Regions from separate parts of the Homo sapiens genome. Here region 2 is linked to region 1. Evidence: promoter capture Hi-C in 16 types of primary human blood cells and fetal thymus (Javierre and others, 2016). All regions are on one chromosome and are shown on one strand. The core of a region is centred on a gene start or on the middle of the fragment in contact, and the rest is flanking DNA. Distances in the headings are between cores, read along the strand shown. Region 1 holds the start of FAM181B (family with sequence similarity 181 member B). Region 2 overlaps ANKRD42 (ankyrin repeat domain 42).

What was found. The method cuts DNA at HindIII sites, captures the fragments that hold promoters and counts their contacts. A CHiCAGO score of 5 or more calls a contact.
Region 2: a fragment that was not itself captured here is called in contact with the fragment with the promoter of FAM181B in region 1 in 1 of 17 cell types (naive CD4 T cells); the score reaches 5.6 in naive CD4 T cells.

Annotation. Positions count from the first base shown.
Region 1 is chr11:82,732,582-82,738,416 of GRCh38, forward strand. FAM181B (family with sequence similarity 181 member B) reads right to left here and starts at 1,283. Exons shown (of 1, transcript NM_175885.4): 1 at 1-1,283. The coding sequence starts at 1,148. The HindIII fragment of the contact is 9,040 bases long and covers 1-4,212 here.
Region 2 is chr11:83,201,343-83,207,177 of GRCh38, forward strand. It overlaps ANKRD42 (ankyrin repeat domain 42), which reads left to right. Exons shown (of 11, transcript NM_001300975.2): 3 at 4,716-4,823. Among named protein-coding and RNA genes, the nearest start is that of ANKRD42, 11 kb to the left of the region's middle. The HindIII fragment of the contact is 1,987 bases long and covers 1,328-3,314 here.

The sequences.
Region 1 (5,835 bases), core at 33-2,532:
GGCAGGGCGCAGTCTGGAAAGAAGGGGGCGAAAGAGGCCAAATGGCCCCGCCCGTCCTCCCCGCCGGGAGAATCCGCAGCGGCGGGGTACAGGGGGCTCAAGGGCTCGTTCAAGGTCAAGCCGCCGCGGGGGGCAGTCAGGGGGCTCTTTTTGGTCGGGGAGCAGCCCGGGACGCTCCAGGGCTCGGGGTACAGTAGGTTTCCCACCACTGCCGGCGGCGGCTCAAAGAGGCCGGGCTCCAGCTCCGGGGGTCCCCGCAGTACGGAGGCTCCGGCGGGGAACACGTCGAGAGGCTCGGCGGCAAGCAAGACTGCCGCCTCCGTGCCGGCGCCGTAGTCGGGCCCCAGCAGCTCAAAGAACTCCACGGCCTCCGCGCCCTTCTCCAGGTCGCCCAAGCTCACGTCCGGCCCCGACGGGCCACACCCGCCGCCGCCTGCCCGGGACGGCTCCGTGAAGAAGGACGGAGGCAGATTGCGTGCCCGCAGCGGGACCTTCCTGGCCCCTGGGATCGCCGTGGCCCCCGCGGGGCCTGCCACGTCCCCTCCCGCGCCCCCAGTGCCCGCACCTCCTAGCCCGGCCGCCGGCGCAGCCACCTCACCCCCCGCCGGCTCGGCACCCCCGGGGACGTGGCGCAGCGAGTCGAAGAGCGCGGCCAGACTTCGGCTTTGCAAGCTGGCGGCCGCGGCGGCCTGCGACGCCTCCCGCCGGGGGGCAGCCTTGCCGTGGGCCGGGGCCGCGACTGTCGGGGCGCTAGGGGCGGCCAGCGGCCGTTTGGCTGGCGTGTCGGCGGCGCTCGGGGAGGGCGGGCCGGGGGGCGCGGCGCCCATGAGGCCGCTGCAGCGCTTGATCTGCTTCTGCAGGTACTTGCGGTGGTTCACCTTCCGCTTCGACTTGCCCGGCTTGTCCAGCGCCAGCTTGATGTTGCTGGACGCCGAGTCAATGAAGCTGAGTAGATCGCGGGTGGCCTCGCGCACGTCCCCTCCTTCGGCTCCCGACAGCAGCGCACCCGCCGGAGCCCCGGTCTCATCGTCCTCGAAACAGCAGCCCTTGTCCAGGGCTCCGAAGGCGCCCCCTAGCCCGTCCGGGGAGCCCCCGAAGCCGAAGGGCACGAAAGGGTGCGTGCTGAGGAGCGCCGCCTGCACCGCCATCGCCGCGGCTCCCGGGCTGTCCGCAGCGCTGCCCGTGCGCCCCCGCCAGCTCCTGCCCGCCGCCCAGACCCAGCTCCCGCCCCGGCGCGGCGCGCGCGGCGCAGCCTACTAGTTCCGGGCCTGGCTCGCTGCGCTGCCTCCCGGGGGAGCTCATTAGGTCTTGTAAGCAAGGGGCGGAGGGAGGGAGCGCGCGGCGACCGTCCCGGTGGTAGAGGGGAGGGGCTTACTTAGCCTGGCTTGGAGGAGTGGGGGGTCGCTTTAGTTTTCTGAGCTTTCTGAAGCTCAACGCCTTAACTCCTTCGTTTCCCTTTGCCCCGTGGTGTTTCTCTTGACTCCTCTAACCGCAAGGGGTGAGGAAGAGATGGCTGGTCTCAAACTCCAGTTCAGGCCCATGAGGCCGCTGCAGCGCTTGATAGGCTTCTGCAGGTACTTGCGGTGGTGCCTCTCCTGAGGCAAGAAGGCAGGAGTCTAGAGACGTGGGTTTCAGTCCAGCTGTATAACAACACCCACCAGCTTCTGGGCGCTTGCTTCTGCCAGGCGCTGTCCATCTATTATCTCATTTAATCCTTGAACAACAGCCCTGTGAATTACATGTTATCGCCATTCAACAAACGTGGACACTGCACCTCAGGGAGGTTCAGTGAGTTGGCCAAAGTCAGATCTAGCCCATTCTGACTCCAAAGCCATTCCTAAGCCCTTGACAATACTTGCGTCCTCTCTTGCCCTTGCCTTTCTCATCTATTAAGATGGGGAAGGAAAATGAGTATTTCTTAAAGCTCTAGACCTGATCCTAAGATTCTAACCTGAGTTTTCCCAGGATTCTCAAGCCCAGTGCTCTTTCTTCTTGACTGTTTGCCACTTGATTGTTACGAGTAACAATTGGCTAACAGTAAATTGAGGCCAGCAGTGGCCCATCTTTTATTAACACATAGCAGGAGGCAATGGAGAAAGGAGTCGATCTGGCTAAGCCCCCTGTTACTTGAGAACACTGTGTGTGTATAAAACTCTCAGCATGTTAGAATAAAAGATGGATTGGAACCTCTCCCCTACCTGTCATACCATTTAGGTTATCCCTGGAATTTTCATTGCATTTCAGGGATCATCATGAAGTTCACTTAAAACTAATTTCACCTGGGCAATCCTCTTTGGGATAGATAGAGAAAATGAGCAATAAGGTCATTTTCACAAGAGATTCAGAAGAGGCTTGGGTTCTGGTCTTAGCCACCACTCAATAACCTCATGACTTAGGTTGAAATCCTTGCTCTGCTGAGTGCATGGCTTTAGACAAACCAGCGTACTCTCTCTGTTTAGCTTACTCATGTTAAATGCAGGTAAAGTTGCCCTCCCCACAGGGCACTTGTGATATTTAAATGATACATTGTTCCATAGCCTGGATGAGTATTCACCCTTACTTCTCTGAAACACAAAAAGGTGACTATATCCCTTACGTGTCTTCTGGATCATAGGGTGTTCATGAGCATTAAGTGAGATCATAGATGCTTCTCAATTTGTGATAGAGCAACAACATCCTGATAAACACATTGTAAGTTGAAAATATTGTAGGTTAAAATGCATGTAATACACTGATTCAAGTTGGAAAATCATAAAGTTGAACCATCATAAGTTGGGGACTGTCTCTATATGAAAACACTGTGTGTGTGATAAAGTGTTCTCTAAATAAGTTACTCTAGTTTCGATACAGAGCTTGCATAGGAGAGACATAGACCATCTCTTTCAAAACTCTTTTTATTAAGCCTCACTTTGTAGATGTAGCGAAACCATTTTTGAACACCATGAAGGCACAGCCTTACCAAAGAAAAAAGGCCAGATGGGCCATCAGAGAAATACAAATCAAAACCGCAATGAGATACCATCTCACACCAGTTAGAATGACGATCATTAAAAAGTCAGGAAACAACAGGTGCTGGAGAGCATGTGGAGAAATAGGAACACTTTTATACTGTTGGTGGGACTGTAAACTAGTTCAACCATTGTGGAAGACAGTGTGGCGATTCCTCAAGGATCTAGAACTAGAAATACCATTTGAACCAGCCATCCCATTACTGGGTATATACCCAAAGTATTATAAATCTTGCTGCTATAAAGACACGTGCACACGTATGTTTATTGTGGCACATAGCAAAGACTATTATTCACATAGCAAAGACTTGGGACCAACCCAAATGTCTATCAGTGATACACTGGATTAAGAAAATGTGGCACATATACACCATAGAATACTATGCAGCCATAAAAAAGGATGACTTCATGTCTTTTGTAGGGACATGGATGAAGCTGGAAACCATCATTCTGAGCAAACTATCGCAAGGACAGAAAACCAAACACTGCACAGGTGGGAAATGAACAATGAGAACACTTGGACACAGGGTGGGGAACATCACACACCGGGGCCTGTCGTGGGGTGGGGGGATGGGGGAGGGATAGCGTCAGGAGATATACCTAATGTAAATGACAAGTTAATGGGTGCAGCACACCAACATGGCACATGTATACATACGTAACAAACCTGCACATTGTGCACATGTACCCTAGAACTTAAAGTATAATAAAAAAGAAAGAAAGAAAAAAGGCCAGATGAACATTTTTCATTTAGAAGATGAAGTAGCCACTTCCCAAACCCACATAGCTGAGCCAAACTTTTTATTTTAAATTCAAATTGGCTCAATTATCATGGACTTTTCATTTGAGTTACACACAGCATTTTGTCCTCCATGGCCGAACTGTCTGTTTTACTCTTGGTGGTATTCACATTCAGAAAATTGTGCAGACCTGTCACTGATTTGTGCTTCTTCCACTCCAGATGTGGATGTCAGCACTGCCCATCCCCTTTCCAACAGGGCCATTCCATAGGCTTCCAGGTCTGGCAGCCAAAAGCACTAACTTTTTTTTTTTTTCACCTTCTGTCAACTGAGCACTCTTACAAGTCCTTGGACACCAATTGCACAGTACTCTACATTTAATCGACATCTTATTCCGAAAAAACTCTTAATCCCCAGGGTTATCTAAATCCTAAAATCATATTCAAAATAAATGGAATATGAAAAGCTTCATATGTAAAAGTCTTTCTTCATTTCTATTGGAGTTCTGCACATCAAAGTTGATTTGAAGTTAGATGAGGCCAGGTTCAAATTCTGGCCCTGCCTATTGCTATTGAACTGCTTGGACAAGTCAGTTCATATTCCAAAGGCTCAAACTCCTTATCTGAAAAAAGGGAATGGTCATAATTGTTCTCAGGGTGAGAATTACATGACATAACAGGCAAGTAATGCCTCTGAATCTTACTTTTCTCACCTGCACAGTGGAGATAATCTCAACTCCTCAAGGTTGTTGTGAGATGGTATATATAAAAGCACCTCACACAAAATAGCAGTTCAACAAATGTCCATGTTCTTGATTCCTTAGGCCCCACCCATTCCTTACCAACACATTACCCTATGAAACCAGCATCATTTGTCCTTTCCCTCAGCAAAGTGAGTGACTATTTTCAAATGCAAGAGAGTAGCTATACTTGGGGGTTGTAGAAACTTACAAAAAGACAATGAAATACAGGAGAGAGAGTGCTAAAACTGGAGCCGGAGACTGACACTGGAGTCCAGTCCTGCCTTTATTATCTGACTGCCTATGGAAAAGTCACTTAACCTTCAGGACCTCGATGTTCCCATCCATAAATGGGGAATAATAACATAATCCTATTTGATAGGGCTATTGTGAAAATCAATAAGATAATGGAAATTGAAGTTTTTGTAAACCATGGAGCTGAAATTCATGGCTTAGAAGTTCTATAGCCTGATTCACAAAATTGATCCTTACAAATAAATATCCATCCAGTCACTGATTTTTTCCAACAGAAAGATATTGACACCCACAATGTGCTCAGCGCTATGCTAGTACTGGGGATACAGAGATAAGAAGCCATGATTTCTACCCTTTGGGTGGAAAGACAAATATGCAAACAAGCCATTGTAATATAATGTGATACATGTCCAATGGAAGTAAAAGGACCCTCAAGTCTGCCCACAGGAGTTGGAGAAGGCTGCATAGACATGCAGCATTTGAGCTAAGACTTAAATGATATATCTGACTGTGTAAAGCAAACACACAATATCTGTGGCAGAGAGAACAGCCTGGGCAGAGGCATGGCTAAATGAAAGCAGTGGTGTTTATGGGAAAATGTAGGCAATAGGGCAACAAAGAACAGCTTCTGCTTGAAGTAATTCTATACCTGAGACCAAAATAAATCCTTAGAGCTTCCACTGTCCAACTAAATTGTACATATAGACCCAGCCTCAAGGCCTTGGCTGCTTTTTCCCTTGATCTCCTTTCCTTTGAGGAAGAGCTCTATCTGGAATGAAATTGGTTTCAGTAAAGTTAGTAGCCAGCTCTAGCCAAGCCCATCAGTCCCTCCTCCTACTCCCTGAGTGAGCACATTCATTTGAGTGGCTTTGACATCAATACATTTCACTTCCTATGGAGCAGAGGGACCCGGCTCCAGCCTGCAGTAGGGGCTCTCTGCAGAACTCCAAACTAGAGCTCTTTCACCCCAGTGACGCTTAATGCTGTGCAAGTGGGATTAGTCTCCTTGGGAACCAAGTCCCCCAGGGGCTCAAGGGCTGAACTCGCCCCAAACCGTTTGGGAGAATTGAGATTTCATATTGTTCTTTTACAC
Region 2 (5,835 bases), core at 1,071-3,570, 470 kb after region 1:
TGGCTGCATGGTATTCCATGGTGTATATGTGCCACATTTTCTTTAGCCTATCATTGATGGGCATTTGGGTTGGTTCCAAGTCTTTGCTATTGTGAATAGCGCTGCAGTAAACATACATGTGCATGTCTTTATAGTAGAATGATTTATAATCCTTTGGGCATATACCCAGTAATATATGACCAGGATTGCTGGGTCAAATGGTATTTCTGGTTCTAGATCCTTGAGGAATTGCTACACTGTCTTCCACAATGGTTAAACTAATTTACATTCCCACCAACAGTGTAAAAGAGTTCCTATTTCTCCACATCCTCTCCAGCATCTGTTGTTCCCTGACTTTTTAATGATTGTCATTCTAACTGGTGTGAGATGGTATCTCATTGTAGTTTTGACTTGCGTTTCTCTAATGACCAGTGATGAGCTTTTTTTCATATGTTTGTTGGCTGCATAAATGTCTTCTTTTGAGAAGTATCTGTTCATATCCTTTGCCCACTTTTTGATGGGGTTGTTTTTTTCTTATAAATTTAAGTTTCTTGTAGATTCTAGATGTTAGCCCTTTGTCAGATGGATAGATTGCACAAATTTTTTCCCATTCTGTAGGTTGCCTGTTCACTCTGATGATAGTTTCTTTTGTTGTGCAGAAGCTCTTTAGTTTAATTAAATCCTATTTGTCAATGTTGGCTTTTGTTGCAATTGCTTTTGGTGTTTTAGTCATGAAGTCTTTGCCCATGGCTATGTCCAGAATGGTATTGCCTAGTTTTTCTTCTAGGGCTTTTATGGGTTTAGGTGTTACTTTTAAGTCTTTAATCCATCTTGAATTAATTTTTATATAAGGCTTAAGAAAGGGATCCAGTTTCAGTTTTCTGCATATGGCTAGCCAATTTTCCCAGCACCATTTATTAAACAGGAAATCCTTCCCCTGTTGCAAAAGTCAGATTTGTTGAAGATCAGGTGGTTGTAGATGTGTGGTGTTATTTCTGAGCACTCTTGTTCTGTTCCATTGGTCTATTTATCTGTTTTGGCACCAGTACCATGCTGTTTTGGTTACTGTAGCCTTGTAGTATAGTTTGAAGTCAGGTAGCATGATGCCTCCAGCTTTGTTCTTTTTGCTTAGGATTGCCTTAGCTCTACGGGCTCTTTTTTGGTTCCATATGAAATTTAAAGTAGTTCTTTCTAATTCTGTGAAGAAAGTCAATGGTAGCTTGATGGGAATAGCATTGAATCTATAAATTACTTTGGGCAGTATGCACATGCTGTTTCATCTGCCTGTCTCATCTCTTCCCACTGGTTACCTGGTTGAAATCCAGGTCAGTCAGTACCCACTTGGTAAAGCTTTCTGTTTTCCCCCTCAATATCTCCCAACTAGTTACTGACTCCTTAGTGCTACCTCTAAATCTTATAAATTTTAAAAAGTGTATAACTTTAAATTTTATTCTCTATTAGATTTTGAGCTCTTTGAAGATACCATTTGAGTCTCATTCATCTTTTTTTCCACAATACCTAGTGTAATATCTGGCATATTATAGGAGTCACATCATAAGTTCACAAGAAATGTTTCTCATGTTGCTGAATTTGTTGAATTAAATTTACGTTTATATTTTTAGTGTCTAGCACAGTGCCTAGCAGATGTTCAATAAATGTTGGTTGGATTTTTTTTTTTTTTTTTTTTCAGACAGGGTATCGCTCTTGTTTCCCAGGCTGGAGTGCAGTGGTGTGATCTCAGTTCACTGCAACCTCTGCCTCCCAGGTTCAAGCAGCTCTCCCACCTCAGCCTCTTATGTAGCTGGGACTACAGGTGCATGTGCCACCATACCTGTCTAATTTTTTGTATTTTTGGTAGAGATGGGGTTTCACCACGTGGGCCAGGCTGGTCTCTAACTCCTGACCTCAAGTGATCCACTTGTCTTGGCCTCCCAATAGGGATTACAGGTGTGAGCCACCATGCCCCAGCCTGTTTGTTGGATTTTAACAAGCATAAACAGAAACCAAAAGATTTTAGTGCTTTTCTCTATTCCTACTTAAAGGTCATCTCCTAAGTTTTCCTTTTTTTCTTTCTTTTTTTTTTTTTTTTTGAGAGGGAGTCTTGCTCTGTCGCCCAGGCTGGAGTGCAATGGCACCGTCTTGGTTGACTGCAACCCCTGCCTCCTGGGTTCAAATGATTCTCCTGCCTCAGCCTCCCGAATAGCTGGGACTACAGGCATGTGCCACCACACCCAGCTAATTTTTGTATTTTTAGTAGAGACGGAGTTTCATTATGTTGGCCAGGCTCGTCTCAAACTCCTGACCTTGTGATCCACCTGCCTTGGTCTCCCAAAATGCTAGGATTACAGGCATGAACCACCGCGTCTGGCCCTAAATCTTTACTTGAGCACTACGTTAACACCTTTACAGTTTTTTAACCTTTCTGAATTTTCTTAAGATTTTTGATATTTATATATTGGTTGCAAGAAATAATCACTAAATTAATAATTGGTAAAAAACCATGCTTTATTGGACTTCAGTTTTTTTCAGATGAAATCTGCTATTGAGCTCCTAGTAAACTTTTCATTTCAGATATACTGTTCAACTCCAGAATTTCCATCTGGTTCGGTTCTCTTCTCTCTTCTCTCTTTTCTCTTTTCAAGACAGAGTCTGGTTCTGTTGTCCAGGCTGGAGTACAGTGGCATGATCTCGGCTCACTGCAACCTCTGCCTCCTGGGTTCAAGTGATTCTCCTGCCTCAGCCTCTTGAGTGGCTGGTACTGCAGGTGCCCGCCACCACGCCTGTCTAATTTTTGTATTTTTAGTAGAGACAGGGTTTCACCATGTTGACCAGGATAGTCTTGAATTCCTGACTTTAAATGATCCACCTGCCACAGCCTCCCAAAATGCTGAGATTACAGACATGAACCACTGCACCCAGCCGGTCAATTGATTTTTAACAAAGATGCAAATGTAATTCAGTGGAGAGCAGATATATTTTCATTAAATGATGTTGGCACAATTACACATATTCATATGTAAGAAAATGAACCTTTTATCCTAAGTGAATTAACACAGAAACAGAAAACGAAAAACCACATATTTTCACTTATATGTGGGACCTAAATATTGGGTACACATGGACAAAGAGATGGGAACAATAGACACTGGGGATTCCAAAAGTAGATAGGGAAGGAGGCAAGGGTTGAAAAACTACCTGTTTGGTAACCTGGTCACTATTTGGGAGATGGGTTCAATAGAAGCCCAAATGCCTCAGCATCATGCAGCATATCCATGAAACGAACGAACTTGGCACATGTACCCTCTGAATCTAAAATTAAAAAAAAAAGAAAATGAAGCTTGAGCCATACTTGGTACCATATGCAAAAATTTACTCAAAACAGATTGTAGATAAATGTAAAACTTATAAAACTTACAGAGAAAATAGAGAAGAAAACCTTTGCAAATCACGTACCTAAGAACTTGTAACCAGATTATATAAGGAACTCTCAGAACTCAGCAGTAAGAAAAAAAATTTTAATGGGCAAAAGACTTCAGTTGACACTTTCTCAAAGAGTACATATGGATGGCAATTAAACATATGAAAAGATGTTCAACATCATTAGCCATTAGGCAAATGCAAATTAAGACCACAATGAGATACCTGTAAGAATAGCAGAAAAAACAAAAAACCAAAAAAATGGCAATACAAAGTGTTTATAAGGATATCGAGAAACTGGAACTCCCATACATTGCTGGTGGGAATGTAGAGAGGTACAGCCACGTTAGAAAACAGTTTGGCAGTTTTTAAAATAAAGTTAAATATATACTTATTTTATGTTCTAGCAATCTCACTTCTACATATTCACCCAAGACAAATGTAAAACCAGTACATGAATGTCGACAGTGGCTTTATTCTCTAGTACCTGAACAATGCACATAATAGTCTTTTCATAAATATTGTTGAATAAATGAATGACTTACTATGATTATTATTGAGATTGAGGTTTTTTAATATTTTATTGTCATTAGTCTCTGCTGCAGGAAAATGATATTTACTTGATAAGCCTTTTAAACAAATAATATGATTATGACTTCTATGACAGTGTATCCCAATGATATGATCAATTCTTTTAAAAAGGAAGAGGTGGTAGCATATACAAACTTGAACATATAAAGACAGTAACACCGTATGTGGTACAGACCTTTAAGTACTGTATTATATTGAGATTTAGATTAATTTTTAAAAATCTTAAAGATACATTTGACTTCTCTCATTTTTTTTAAATAAACCATTTATTTTTTAGAATCACTAGAATAACAATGTTTGCTCTGATGCAAAAGCTCTGGACCCGTTTAAAGATCTATGTTTGAGATTGAAAACTGGCAGCCTTTGAGTGAATTTGACTCTTAGATCTGTTTTCTTTGGCCTGCACAGTATTGGTCAAACAGAATATTTACAAACATTGGATAAGCATTTCACTCATAGCAACCACTGACTGTAATTGAGTAGTGTCTACACCTTACAGACAAGAAATATGGTCTCCAGTTTGCCACAGTTCCCACTAGTCTCTATTGTTTACCCAGCAGTGAGGCCAAATGTTGGTTGCCATGTCACTGTGCTTGTGCTTTTGTTTTTCTTATACATGGATCTCTCATTCACTACAGTCTGCTATTTTATGATAACAGACCAAATTTAAAAGATAAAAATGTTAAAAACATCCACTTTATCACTTGTTAACATGGTTATTTTCTTAGTGTCTTCATTGGCTGCTCTGGCATGGAGCTGATATCACACACGTAACAACGAGAGGTTGGACAGCATCTCACATAGCTGCAATCAGGGGTCAGGATGCTTGTGTACAGGTAATAATATTACTTTTTTCAGTAAGTTCAATTACTTTAACATAGTTCTGTTGGGATATTGCTATTATTCTAATTATTTGACTCAATAGATTTAGTTTTATGTTCTAAACAAGAACTTACTGGATTCCACAACTCAGATATTCTGATACCAGCTATCCACTTAAACAAATGGTATGTGACCAGAAATCCTCTTATCTCTGATGTAGTTGGCTGTCTGCGTTGTTTTAAGAGATCTCACAGTCATAACCAGATTATCTCTTTTATAGCTTGCTGCTGTGGTCTGAATGTTTGTGTCCTCCAAAATAAATATGTTGAAATCTTAACCCCAAGGTGATGGTGTTAAGAGGTGAGGCCTTTTGGGAGGTTATTAGGTCATGAGGGGTTTGCCCTCATAAATGGGATTAATGTCCTTTTGCAAGAGACCTCAGAGAGCTAGCTCTCTAGCCTCTTCCACCATATGAGGATGCTGTGAGAAGGCACTATCTATGCAGAATGAGCCCTCACCAGACAGAATCTGCCACCACCTTAATCTTGGACTTCCCAGCCTCCAGAACTATGAGAAATAAATTTTTGTTGTTTATATGCTCCCCAGTTTATGATATTTTGTTATAGTAGTCCAAACAGACTAAGACACTTGGCCATGCCTAAAATTTCGTATTTAATGTATTGCCTGACCAGGGTGACACATTAATATATGGTAGGATCTAGTTTATTAGAGTAATTAATTTATTCAGTGTTTTGAAATAGACTGGAATTTGGAGGAGTACAGAGTCATATAAGCAAACAGCTGGTATTAGTCCATTCTCACACTACTATGAAGAAATACCTGAGACTGGGTAATTTATAAAGAAAAAAGGTTTAGATGACTCACAGTTCCACATGGCTGGGAAGGCCTCAGGAAACTTACAATCATGGTGGAAGGGGAAGCAAACACATCCTTCTTCACAGGATGGCAGGAAGAGAGAAGTGCTGAGCAAAGGGGGAAAGCTTCTTATAAGACCATCAGATCTCG